Linked DNA regions of Homo sapiens: region 2 is linked to region 1. Evidence: promoter capture Hi-C in 16 types of primary human blood cells and fetal thymus (Javierre and others, 2016). All regions are on one chromosome and are shown on one strand. Each heading gives the region's core, a stretch centred on a gene start or on the middle of the fragment in contact. The rest is flanking DNA. Distances are from core to core; before and after follow the strand shown.

Evidence for each region. Contacts are between HindIII fragments. The CHiCAGO score rates a contact against its expected background, and 5 or more counts as called.
Region 2: a contact is called between a fragment that was not itself captured here and the fragment with the promoter of FAM89A in region 1, in 1 of 17 cell types (erythroblasts). The highest score is 6.4, in erythroblasts.

What each region holds. Positions count from the first base shown.
Region 1 is chr1:231,036,547-231,042,871 of GRCh38, reverse strand. FAM89A (family with sequence similarity 89 member A) reads left to right here and starts at 2,618. Exons shown (of 2, transcript NM_198552.3): 1 at 2,618-2,951. The coding sequence starts at 2,661. RefSeq lists silencers at 2,457-2,566, 2,827-2,876, 3,517-3,596 and an enhancer at 3,259-3,940. The HindIII fragment of the contact is 3,223 bases long and covers 1,013-4,235 here.
Region 2 is chr1:231,152,497-231,158,821 of GRCh38, reverse strand. No RefSeq gene overlaps it. Among named protein-coding and RNA genes, the nearest start is that of TRIM67, 6.4 kb to the left of the region's middle. The HindIII fragment of the contact is 2,913 bases long and covers 1,465-4,377 here.

The DNA.
Region 1 (6,325 bases), core at 1,369-3,868:
TCAAGACCAGCCTGGCCAAGATGGTGATGGGTATGGTGGCGGGTGCCTGTAATCCCAGCTACTTGGGAGGCTGAGGCGGAGAATTGCTTGAACCCGAGAGGTGGAGGTTGCAGTGAGCCAAGATCGCGCCACTGCACTCCAGCTTGGGCGACAGAGTGAGACTCCATCTCAAAAAAGAAAAAAAAAATTGGTAAGGTTGGCATTGTCTAAGTTGTGCCTCTTTTCTCGAGTCCTGACACCACGGACCTCATGCTGCTGTCTAGCTGACCCTAACCTCCTTTTCCTTCTGTAATCCGTAATTCTCTGAAGTATGTGCTTTAAAATGCTTTCAGTGCCCCGATACTTCAAAGTGATTTCTTTTCTTATTTCACCATCACATAGCTGAATCTCCTATCACCTACCTTGAGTGATTTCTGCTAGGTACTACAGGTGAGACTGCATTGTAACCAGTGAAATTAAAGAAATTCATGCAGGCTGGGCGCGATGGCTCACACCTGTAATCCCAGCACTTTGGGAGGCCGAGGTGGGTGGATCACCTGAGGTCAGGAGTTCGAGACCAGCCTGGCCAACATCGTGAAACCCCATTTCTACTAAAAATACAAAAATTAGTCGGGCGTCGTGGCACATGCCTGTAATTCCAGCTACTTGGGAGGCAGAGACAGGAGAATTGCTTGACCCAGGAGGCAGAGGTTGCAGTGAGCTGAGATCACGCCACTGCACTCTAGCTTGAGTGATAGACTGTCTCATAAAAAAAAAAAAATTCATGCTAAGGTGTGAACCGAATGTCAAAATGCTTCCCACCCCTTCCTCTCCCTTACTCCCACACAGGCAGACTGGTCACTCTCCTGAAGACACCCACCGTTTACATAAGTGAATGAATAAATACCTGACATCCAGAAATGTGACTAGGTAATTAGTAGAAGGTGAGGCACAGTGAAGAGGCGGAAAATTCTGGGCAGTGGGTGGGGTGGGAAGCCTGGGTGCTGTCAATCACACCGCCTGCACTAAAGCTTCTTCATATCAGTCTCACCCACTTGCAACCGTCCAGGGAGAATATTGTGCCAATTTCAAAGACACTGCTTCTGGGGTGGGCTCTAGGAGGTGGTAAAGGGTATAAAACAACCCAAAGTGCAGGGCTCTTTTATGTTGGGTGTCTGAAGTGCTCAGAACACTTTATAATTTTGATCCCCTTGAATGTAGCTAGAAAATTAAATCCCTTTATAATTAAAGCCAATAATGAATGGGCATTAAAGTTATCCAATCTATACACTGCATTAGTTTTTAATCTGCGGTTGGGCTGTAGCGTTTACTTCTTGATCTTTTCTATCTCTAATCTGGTTATAACTGCCTGTCATTTTTACTTTTCCTGGGAGGGGCAGAGTCTCTCTCTCTCTTCTCTTTTCCTCTGAGGTGTGCGTCGTGTTTATTTTTGCCTGAGCTGATGGATAATTTCCGAGATTTAATCCCTTTCTCTGGTTTCCTGACATTTCCACTTAGAGTTACTCTTGTGTTTATGGCCAGAATGAAAGGCATGTTTACTAGTGTTTTGAAGTTTCAAAAGTGGGTCTGGCGTTCTTGCTGACTGCTGCGGGTACTGCTGGACAAGGCCGTGCTGAGAAGGCCAGCGCGCCCGGCGGCAAGGAGCGACCTGCCCGGGTCTGGGGCCCCCAGCCGCCCCCCGCGGCGAGTGGGAGGCAGCAGGAGGCGGGCTGGATTCCGCCCTCGGGGAGGGCCGGGGGTCCTGGGACCAGAGCCAGGCCTCCTGCCCTCGACGTCCTGCCGGTTGTGAGCCAGAGCCTCGGTACCCCCACCCCCTGCAACGGCCTGCTTCGTGGGATCTGAAGCTGGGCCGCCCCCTGGGCAGGGCAGGGATCGGTGAGGCAAGGAGCTGAGGAGCGCTGGCAGGTAAGGGGGAAGTCTGGAGCCGGGTTGGAGGTGAGCGGGCGTTGAGGGGTGGGACAGAGGGAGTGGAGACGGGGCTGGGGGCGAGCCAGTGAACTGGGGGTGGCACAGAGGAGGTGGGAGCAGAGATGGGGGTGATCCGGAAGCCTGGGGTGGGGGGTGAGTGGGTTCGGAGCTGAGGGTGAGCCAGTGAGCTGAGGGTGGCACAGAGGGCGTGGGGGCGGAACTGGGGGTGAGCCGGGAAGCTGGGGGTTGGCACAGAGGAGGTGGGGACAGAGATGCGGGTGAGCCGGGAAGCTGGGGTTCGGGGTGGCGCGGGTGAGAGGGTTCGGAGCTAGGGGTGAGCCGGGAAGCTGGGAGGTGGTTCAGAGGAGGTGGGGACAGAGATGGGGGTGAACCGGGAAGCTGCGGGTCGCGGGGGGCTTAGTAGGTTCGGAGCTAGGGAGTGGCACAGAAGGGTTCGTGACGGGGCTGGAGGTGAGTCGGGGGGTTAGAGGGTAGTCACGCGGAGTTGGAGATGAATTAGGGCGCTGGAGGGGCGCGAGGGAGGAGGAGACCCGGGTGGAGGCGAGCCCGGCTGCTGGACGCGGACGCCACCCGGACCCGGGGCCCGCGCAGGGGCCTCGAGGAGAGGGGGCGGGGCCGGGGGGGCGTGGCGCGGGAGGGGAAGTGGGCGGGGCACCGCCGGGAAGGGGGCGGGCCGGGGGAAAGCCTTGGTTCGCTGCAGCGGGGCAGGCGCGTGGCCGGGCCGCGGCGCGATGAGTGGGGCCCGGGCGGCGCCCGGGGCCGCGGGCAACGGCGCGGTCCGGGGGCTGCGGGTGGACGGGCTGCCCCCGCTGCCAAAGAGCTTGAGCGGGCTGCTGCACTCGGCGTCGGGCGGCGGCGCGTCTGGGGGCTGGCGGCACCTGGAGCGGCTGTACGCGCAGAAGTCGCGCATCCAGGACGAGCTGAGCCGCGGGGGCCCGGGCGGCGGCGGGGCCCGGGCGGCAGCGCTGCCCGCCAAGCCTCCCAACCTGGACGCCGCTCTGGCGCTGCTCCGCAAAGAGATGGTGAGTGGGGCTCCGCGAGCTGGGGCTCTTCCCGGCCGGGCTCGCCGTCCCGGGAAAGTTCGCGGGGACCGCGCTCTGTCCGGAAGTCCCCGCGCCCACCCGCCCTTTCGGGCTCCTCCGCCCCAGGCGCCGGCGCCGTCCTCCCAACGACCCCCATTTTTCTCGCGTGCTCCGTGCCCACGATTGGAACCCCCGCGGGAGAGCCCCGCGCGCAGAGGGCGGCTTTCTTATGCCCGGCGCCCTCAGTCCGGCCCCGCTGGCTCGGAAACCTGGGCGCCCGGAAGCGCTGTGCGGGGTTCGTGCCTGGCCTGGGGGCGGGGGCGGCCTTGTCACCTCTCCCCGAGTGAAACAGACCTTCCCGGTGGGGGAAAGGCTTTCACAGCGGCCCAACGGATTAACGCGATTGCGTTTTCCTACCACGAAGAGGACAACTTTTGTCCGCCGCCAGTGTAGACAGCAGATTGGAACAGCCCGGCCCCCTTTCCGGCGCCCCAGGCCGCGCGTCCGTGATCCGATTACCGCGGGATGGCCCCGGCGCACAGATGGCTGCGAAAGCAGACGCGCACCCCGGGCGAGGGAGGCGGCCGGGTCCCTCAGCCCCGCGAAGCTGATTGCCCAAACCCTCTTGAGAAAGGTGGGAGGTGGCTGTCCTCCCGGTCTGGGTGCTGTCCATGTGAGTTCTTCGCCTTGTGTCTAAGCTCCATACCATGGGCTCAGTGTTTCTCTGTGCTTGGGAAGTACATTAGCTGTTTGTGGACCAGAACACACATGATTTAGGGTGACGCTAAAAGTAGGACAAGGGCAGGGATTTAGGCAACAGCGAGTCTTTCCCCAGCTTTCTCGGCCAGGCGTAGGCCAGGCAAGAAGAAATCAAAAACTTTTCCTCTTTTCTACCATCTTACTGGCCCCCATCACCTCCTCCCAATCCCCTCGTTTTAAAAGCCTCCCTTTCCATTCACCTCGTCCAGGTTGTCTCCTTTCCCTATAGGTAAATTGTTAAGAAATCTAACATTAGGAAAGCTGCCTTTTCCCAAAACTAAATTTGCCAAAAAATAAATTGTTATAGGAATCTTTTAAATATGTATCTAGTGCATTTAAGATATTGTTTAGAAAAATTCAGGGTATGCATACTTTTTTTTCAGGAGCATTATCTGTTCTGAAAACTAAGACTTAATTGAATTCAGAAAGCAGCCTTAACACTTTTAATCAAAGAGATATTGTCTTCCTACTCTGTAGCTGGCATTGAAGTGATTTCCAATTCTCACTGAAAAGATTTTCTAAGCTTCTTACAGAACCACTTAAATTCCAAGCCAACCGTTTTTAATTTATTAAAAAACATTCATTGACATAAGCATCACACAGCTGGTGAACTGCATTTTAATTAGATAAATCTACACGTAGTGTGTTTACAGTCTGAACTTGGACATAGCAGAACCACGGGGGTGAAGTAGGAAGATCATCTTTGATTATTTAAATTCCATACTTGAGCAAGAGATAGAAAAACCTCGGGGCCGCTCCTGTTGTGAAGCTGTGGTTTATAAACATGCTCTGGAGTCTTGCTATGGTGGCTTGGGAGTCAACGTGCCATTCCCAGAAGTATTTTTCCAGGTCCCTCCTGGTGTGACTGAAGCACAACCACATCCGTATAATTACGCCTTGGACCAGAGCTCTCTGTAAGCCTATTTGAAGCACAAGAAAAATAAACAGCCATCTTTGGTCTGCCTGGTATTTAGCTGAGATAAAGATAAGATATGGCTGCAGGTTTTGACAAGTTCCTTTCAAGAAATGTCACAAGGCCTTTAAAGTTGCCCAGAGAATCTTTCGGCTTTTTAATTGATTTACTGACTTGGGGCCATGGGGTCTGAGTGGACAACTCAAGCTGAGACTCCCTCTGGGGAGGCCTTGCAAAACAAGAACTGGGAGTTCATTCCTGAGATATCTGCAAAATAGTTTGTGTTGATCTGTTTAAATTGAAGGCCTGACGTCAAATCTGTGGCAGGGGACATAACTAGATGTCATGGTAGAATGTGATAAATGCCTTAAAGAAATTTTTTTTTTTAAAGCAAGCATAGAAAGAGGGGCAACTTCTAATAGGGACAGGGAGCAGGGTGGTGTGGAAGACCTCAGAAGGCGACAGAATTTCGACAAGGGAAAGAGGCACCAGGAAGGTAGCTGCGGAGCTGGAACTGGGAGTGCGCCAGTTTGAAATGTGAGCAAGAAGGGCCTGGGCAGGTGGACCGAGTGGACTCTGAGAAGCCTGAGTAGCAAGGATGGGCATTCAGCAGGAGAATGGTATTATCCCAGTTGGACTTTGAAGAAATGAATTCTACAGCAGGGTGCAGAAGGGAGAGCTGGACTTTGGAGGCTCAACAGGAAGATGAGAGGTGTTCATGGGAGAGGTGATGGAGTCCCCAGCAGGGTAGGGGGCTTGCTAATGTGAAACAAGACTCATGTGGGAGACACTTTTCTGAAGCCGAAGCTGGAGGAATTACTGAGTCAAGGAAGATGATGAAAAGGGGATCAAAGATAACTTAAGCTTTTTCATGGAAAATGTAGCCAAGCAAAAAATTAAAAATTACAGTGCCAGCACCTAGAAATAATCACTTTTAGTATTTTGGGATATCTTCTGTTAGGTGCAATGTAAGTGCTTTCTATATAGTATCTTATTTAATGGTATAAATTCTCCATGAGATAGATACTCAAAGTCTGTTTTATATTAAAGAATTGGATGCTGAGAGTTGAACTCCCATAAGGTCACAGACCCTACCAGGTCTCTTTGGCTCCAAAGCCCTATTTAACCATTGCAGTCTGCTGTCTGTGCACATGCATGCACTCTCACACACACACACATACATATATACAACACATTGATCACATATATTTTGGTTTGCTTTTTGGGCTGCACATTGCAATTATTTTCCCAGTCAAGATATATTATAATGACTTCAGTGAGTGTGTAGTATACCACTGTATGGCAGTTAGCAAGGTTTTGAAGCTTAATAATCAATCACTGGTAAAGTGGGGTTCATTATGGCACTTGGGGAGTCAGGAGGAGTAGCTGCTTTAGGGAGGAAGGTAATTTGTCATCGCATCAGCTGAAGAGCATGTTAAACATTTCAGAATGTGGAGCTGGAAGCTGGAAGAGAGGTTTTGGTCTGGAGATAGCCAGTAGAAGAGATGGTTGGAGCTGAGGGAGTAATACCATCTCAATGGGAGGAGAGGCCATTCGGATGCCGAGGGTGGAGGCTGGGAGAGCTGGAGCCCAGGGCTGAGAAGGGTCTGTCTCATGACTGCTGATGCCCTCCTCTGCTTGGAGAGTTGTGGTTTCAGCTCCACGTTTCAACACTTCCTGTTCTAGTAACCCCTGTGAAATT
Region 2 (6,325 bases), core at 1,672-4,171, 120 kb before region 1:
TCTACTAAAAATACAAAAAATTAGCCAGGTGTGGTGGCGGGCACCTGTAGTCCCAGCTACTCGGGAGGCTGAGACAGAAGAATGGTGTGAACCTAGGAGGTGGAGCTTGCAGTGAGCCAAGATCGCGCCACTGCACTCCACCCTGGGCGACAGAGGGAGACTCCGCCTCAAAAAACAAAACAAAACAAAACAAACAAACGAACAAAACACACAAAAATTATCCAGACATGGTGGCAGGTGCCTGTAGTCCCAGCTACTCAGGAGGCTGCGGCAGGAGAATTGCTCGAACCTGGGAGGTGGAGGTTGCAGTGAGGCAAGATGTTGCCACTGCACTCCAGCCTGGGCAACAGAGCAACACTCTGTCTCAGAAAAAAAAAAAATTCCTTCTGGTTCTACAGTCTCTGTGTATTAGCTGTTGTTGAGAATGACATATCCCTTGGCTGGATGTCGTGGCTCATGCCTGTAATCCAAGCACTCTGGAAGGCCGAGGCGGGTGGATCACTTGAGGTCAGGAGTTCAAGACCAGCTTGGCCAGCATGGCGAAACCCTGTCTCTACTAAAAATAGAAAAATTAGACAGGCATGGTGGCACAAGCTCCCAGCTACTTGGGAGGCGAAGGCACGAGAATTGCTTAACCCCAGGGGGCAGAGGTTGCAGTGAGCCAAGATTGTGCTACTGCACTCCAGCCTGGGTGACAGAGTGAGACCCTGTCTAAACAAAAAAAACAAAAAACGAATAACATAGTCCCCCCTTTAAAAAATGACACTCACAAAAAAATTTGATCCCCAAATTGAATGACATATCTATTTTTTTTCAAGTCCCTAATATATTATTAAAGGCTGGGCTGTGGGGTGGGTGAGGCAAGTAATAATATTTGCATTGTAACACTTAACAGTGTGGAATGAGAACCTTTTTTAATTTTCAGAACATCTCTGGGAATTAGGCATCACCACATTTCCTCAATTTTAATATGTATAAATGTTTACATTTTAATGTTGCTGAAATTAAAAAGTATACTACAATTGATACATACTTCTGCTCTCCCTACTGTTGCTTTGAAAATTTCCTATTAAATTGATGGTGCATCTTATCATCACTTGGCCTCATGGAAAGTACATTAGTAATTAAAACTCCACAATCTACTGCTATCAAGGCAGAGAAAAACAGACTCTGCCATGAGTTACTTTGGATAATGTACTGCAGGATGGTTTTTACACTTAAGTGTCCCAGAAACACTCAAGAGGCTGAGTAATGTAACCTCTCCTCAAAAAAAAAAAAAGCACAAATCAGTTAAATAATTTACTCCAGCTAACACAGCAAGTTAGAAGTAAATCATCTGCATTCCTTTCAGAATGCTTCGAATTTCAAGCATGAAGCAGAATGGAATTGAAGGCTTTATCAGCTAAAATCAGATGCTGTAATCTCAAGTGTAAGAATCTCTAAAACAAATTTTAAATGAAAGCTTATGATATTTTTTCTTTTAGTTTTTTGGGTTTTTTTTTTTAACAGTTTAGGGTGAATTCAGGAAATTCAATAGAAATCTACAGACCAGAAGCCATCTGGTCTAAAGTAGTTTGCATTTAACTCAAAGAAAGTGACCATATCCACATCTAGGCATAGTGTACCAAAGCGTCTCTGCAGCAAAGTTAATGAGGAACAATTATCACTAACAACATAAAGCACTCTCCCCAGGGTGTGTAATTGGCTTCTTTTCCAGAAAACAATTTCTATTGAGTAATCTTAAAATCTAGCCATTTTTCCCTTCAAACATCCTTGATTGGTGCTTAACAACCTTGTTTTAATTTCTGAATACCAAATGATGACCACCCCCTTCTAATTCCGAGACTCATCTTCTGTACGGATCAGGTGATCTGGTCTTAGAAAGCCTGCTTTTGCCTCACTGCATCTTTTGCAAGCAAAAGAGTTTAGAATCAAATCCCAGATGAAGAAAATTGATTTCAATTTAGAGGATTCTTTATATACCCAGGGTATCTTTGTAATGCATGAAAACTAATACTATTACCACAAAAGCAATTTTTGGCACTTCCCTCTGGTTACATATTTCAGCTATAAGAATTGCAGTAGTACTGTACACTTTCATGACACCCCTTCACATATTTTATTTTATTTATTTCAGACAAGGTCTCGCTTCATCGCCAAGGCTGGAGTGCAGTGTTGTGATTATGGCTCACTGCAGCCTTGAACTCTTGGGCTCAAAGGATCTTCCTGTCTCAGCCTCTAGAGTAGCTAGGACTACAGGTGCATGCCAGCATACACAGCCAATTTTTCTTTTTTTAAACATGTTTTGTAGAGATGGGGTCTTACTACATTGCTGAGGCTGGTCTTGAATTCCTGGCCTCAAGCAATCCTCCCACCTTGACCTCCTAAAGTGCTGGGATCATAGATGTGAGCCACTGTGCCTGGCCCCATTATTTAATTTAATCCTCACAGCAACGTGGGTTGGCCTGGGAGATGATGAAAATGAAGAAAGGACCCTGACCCACATAGTAGGTTTCTACTAGCCGTGCTAATACAACTTGATCCCAAATCTAGGCACAATTGTTTAGTTCATGGGTGGGCAACTGACTAGGCTGAGCCAGTCAGAATCTTTTCTTCCTGAAATGTAGAATTGGAAACCAGAGAAAGAATCTGGATGGGCCTCTAATACAGATGTTAAGGAACTGTTGTGGTCCTGAAAAAGAAAAAAAAAAAGAAAAAGAAAAAGAAACAGAGAGTGAAGAATAAAGCAGAAAAGCAGAAAAAGAAGAGAAGACCCCTCCTGAGGTCTCACAACAGCTCATGTTTCTGAGACTTGGCAACATTCATGAATAAAACTCCCTTCTACCCTCAGGAAAAATGTAATTTCCCTTCCTTATTTTTCTTCCTTTCTTTCTCTCTTTCTTCGCCCCCCCCCAACCCCCCCACCCTTCCACCCTCTTTCTATTCCAAAACTAGCTGGGGAGATGAGGGGGTACTTCAGAAGGATAAGATTGGTTAACCCATTGGCCTATTCAAACAATTAGGGGAACACCCTTATTTAGTTTGACACTTTAGTCACCTCTGTTGGGACATTGAAATATTTCTTCTCCCCAGCTTCTCTTTATTGAATTCTGACCTTGACTCTTTATTGGTTTTGCCCTTGTCATTCTCGGATGCTATTTTCTCCTCATAGCTTGACCATTTCAGTCCATTAAGCTCCGTTTGCTCTCATCCTAACCACCCACTCTAATGAGCCATTTGCTTCCCTTCCTTGGGCTCCTGCTTCCTCTCCCTGACCACAGCGAGAGCCATGGCTCCATGATGCCTTTGTTCTCTCCACTCAATATTCTCTTGAACAGGAAATCAATGTTAGATTGCACTTGATGGTGCATGTAACTCCAACGGCCTCTCATATTAAGACAAAGAGCAAAAACCCTCGAGGTTTGTAAACTGTGGAGTGCTATACTGGGGATAACAAGTTACTTGTTACTTGGTGAGTATAAGAGAGATCAGAGCACAAGTTGTGGAACAGGGCATGAAAAGTGCTTTCAAACTCTGATAGCCTTATTCAGCCATTTCCTCTGTAAGGCTCTACCACCAGGGAAAAAATGCTCATGCCACAAGACAGGGCACCTTTCACATGGCAACGTGCTATAAACCACTGAGAACCATGTCACCATTCAATTCACTAGGCTGCAGTGTTACTTATAATGTGGAAATTACTATTCAAGTGCAATGACTGCAGTTTCCTAACAGCAACCAGCAACCACATTTGACTGATTTCTACATAAGCAGCCCTTAGGTTTGGTAGCAACTTGACAGACCTCCTGAGTTCTGCATGGCGGTTGGGAGTGTTGGCTTGGAAGCCAGACCACATAGGTTAGAATCCTGGCTCTACTGCTTACTAGCTGAGAAAACTTTGGCAAGATGCTTCACCTCTCAGCCACTTGAATTTCTCATCTGTAAAACTGAGATAATAAAGGTACATACCTTAAAGAGCTGGGACTACCCAATAAAATAACACACGTAAAACATTTAGAAAAGTCAATGTATAGTGCTCAACAAACATTAGATGTTGTTACTTTTTAAATTTTCTGCCCCTTGGCCTCATAATACAGGACATGGTTACCGTTGAATGGCTGATTCTCAACAGATACTTGTGAATAGGTGAACTGCAAGCAGACTGTTTTGGCTGGAGTGTCAGGCTGTATTTGAGAATAGTGGAGAGAGTGAGCCGCTTGTCTTTTGTGATTGAGAAGGGAAGATGGAAGAGCTATCAGAACCATCTATCAGGAAATGGCTGTAATATCTAGAAAAAACACAATCTCTGCTCTAGAGGAGCTTAATGTTTAAAGCAATGATCATGGCTAGAGGCAAAATAATGGAAATAATGAAGCTTGCAAAAAACAGAGAGCAAGCTTTTTTTTTTAAAAAAAGCAAAGGAAACAAAGAGATACATTTAAATATTTATGCTGTCTATAGATTAAGGGTTAAGAACATTGATTTTAAAGCCTTTAGTGAAAGAATGCCAGATAAAGACATTATGACCTAGTAGTACTTGCACATAATTTATATAAGGTAACTGGATAATATTTTGATATATTAATCAAAATAGTTTCAATTTTTAAAAATAATTTCTTATTGTCATAGTAGAACCAGAGAGAAAGAAGAGAGTCAAGTCTTGAAAAGCTACAAGCTTCATAGAGGACCTGAAGTGGCTATACAACGTGTTCAGACAGGCAGGCCAGGGCAGCCCAGCTGGGTCCCTATACTCCCTACAAGTGCACCAGAAGCACCTGAATGTTTTCTTCTGTGTCTCAGACCTAGCCCAGAAAATTGGCAAACCTACAGCAGCCTTTTAGTCAGAGTCTATAAGAGCCATATGCCCAGAAGCCAGACTGAAAAACAGCTATCTCAGCAGAAGTCAGTGTGTATGAGGATGACAGTGACAGTGATAGGAACCTAGATAGGTACCTAGATACGAACCTAGATACTTAGTCCACCTACACAGACACATGCTGTCACAACAGAAAACACTCCAGAACTGAGGTTTACTGCAGGGAGGTGAGGAGGGAGGGCTGAGGGTTTGCCTGGAAATCACCCAGACACTCAATTGGCTGTTAATATATTTCCATCATCTAGCAGAATGGTGGCTGAAATAGAAGCTAAATTCACCTGTAGAGACAATAAGAAAGTTACGGTTCTTATAACCCTAAGTTTGTGGGATGAGATTCGTGCTTGATTTGTATCTTTCATTATTTAATCATCACAACAGACCTGTAAAGTGGGATTATGATAATCTCACTTTATAAATGAGAATGTAAGAGATGGAAAAGAATAACTGCTCAAGTGTGTTGGGCCATTAATTGGTGAGACAGAAAATTTTCTGATGGGAATGCAAATTGGAACAGTCACTTTGGAAAACAGTTTGACAGTTTCTCATAAGTTCAACACAAACATCATAGAATCCAGCAATTTCACAGTTACATATTTACTTAGATATCCACACCAAAGACTTTTATGTAAATGCTCAGAGTATTTATTTATAATTGCCAACAATTGGAAATAATTCAAGTATACATCAACTGGTGAATAAACAAATTATAATAATACAATGAAATATTACTCCACAATAAAAGAATGAACTACAGACACATTGATATAGTTTAGATAATTGTCCCAGCCCAAATCTCATGTTGAATTGTAATCCCCATTGCTGGAGGTGAGGCCTGGGGGTGGTATCTGGATCATGGGGACAGATTCCTCATGGCTTGGTGCTGTCTTTGTGATCATGAGTTCTCACAAGATCTGGTCATTTAAGAGTGTGTCGCACCTCCCCTTTCCCCACACACACCCTCTCTCTTTCTCTTTCCCTCTATCTCTCTTTCTTTCTCTTTCCCTCTCTCTCTCTTTCTCTCACACATGAGCACATGTGCTTGCTCCTGATTTTGCCTTGTGATATGCCTGCTCCCACTTCACCTTCTGCCATGATTCAAAGCTCACTGAGGCTTCACCAGAAGCCAAGCAGATGCCAGCACCATGCCTCCTATAAAGCCTGCAGAACTATGAGCTAACTAAACCTCTTTTATTTATAAATAACCCAGTCTCAAGTATTTCTTTATAACAATGCTAGAATGACCCGATACAGAAAATTGGTACTGAGGAGTGGGACAATGCTATAAACATACATAAAAATGTGGAAGCAACTTTGGAACTGGATAGCAGGCAGAGGTTGGAAGAGTTTGGAGGGCTCAGAAGAAGACAGGCAGATAAGAAAAGCTTGGAATTTCCTACAGACTAATTAACTAGTTGTAACCAAAATGCCGGTAGTGATATCGACAGTGAA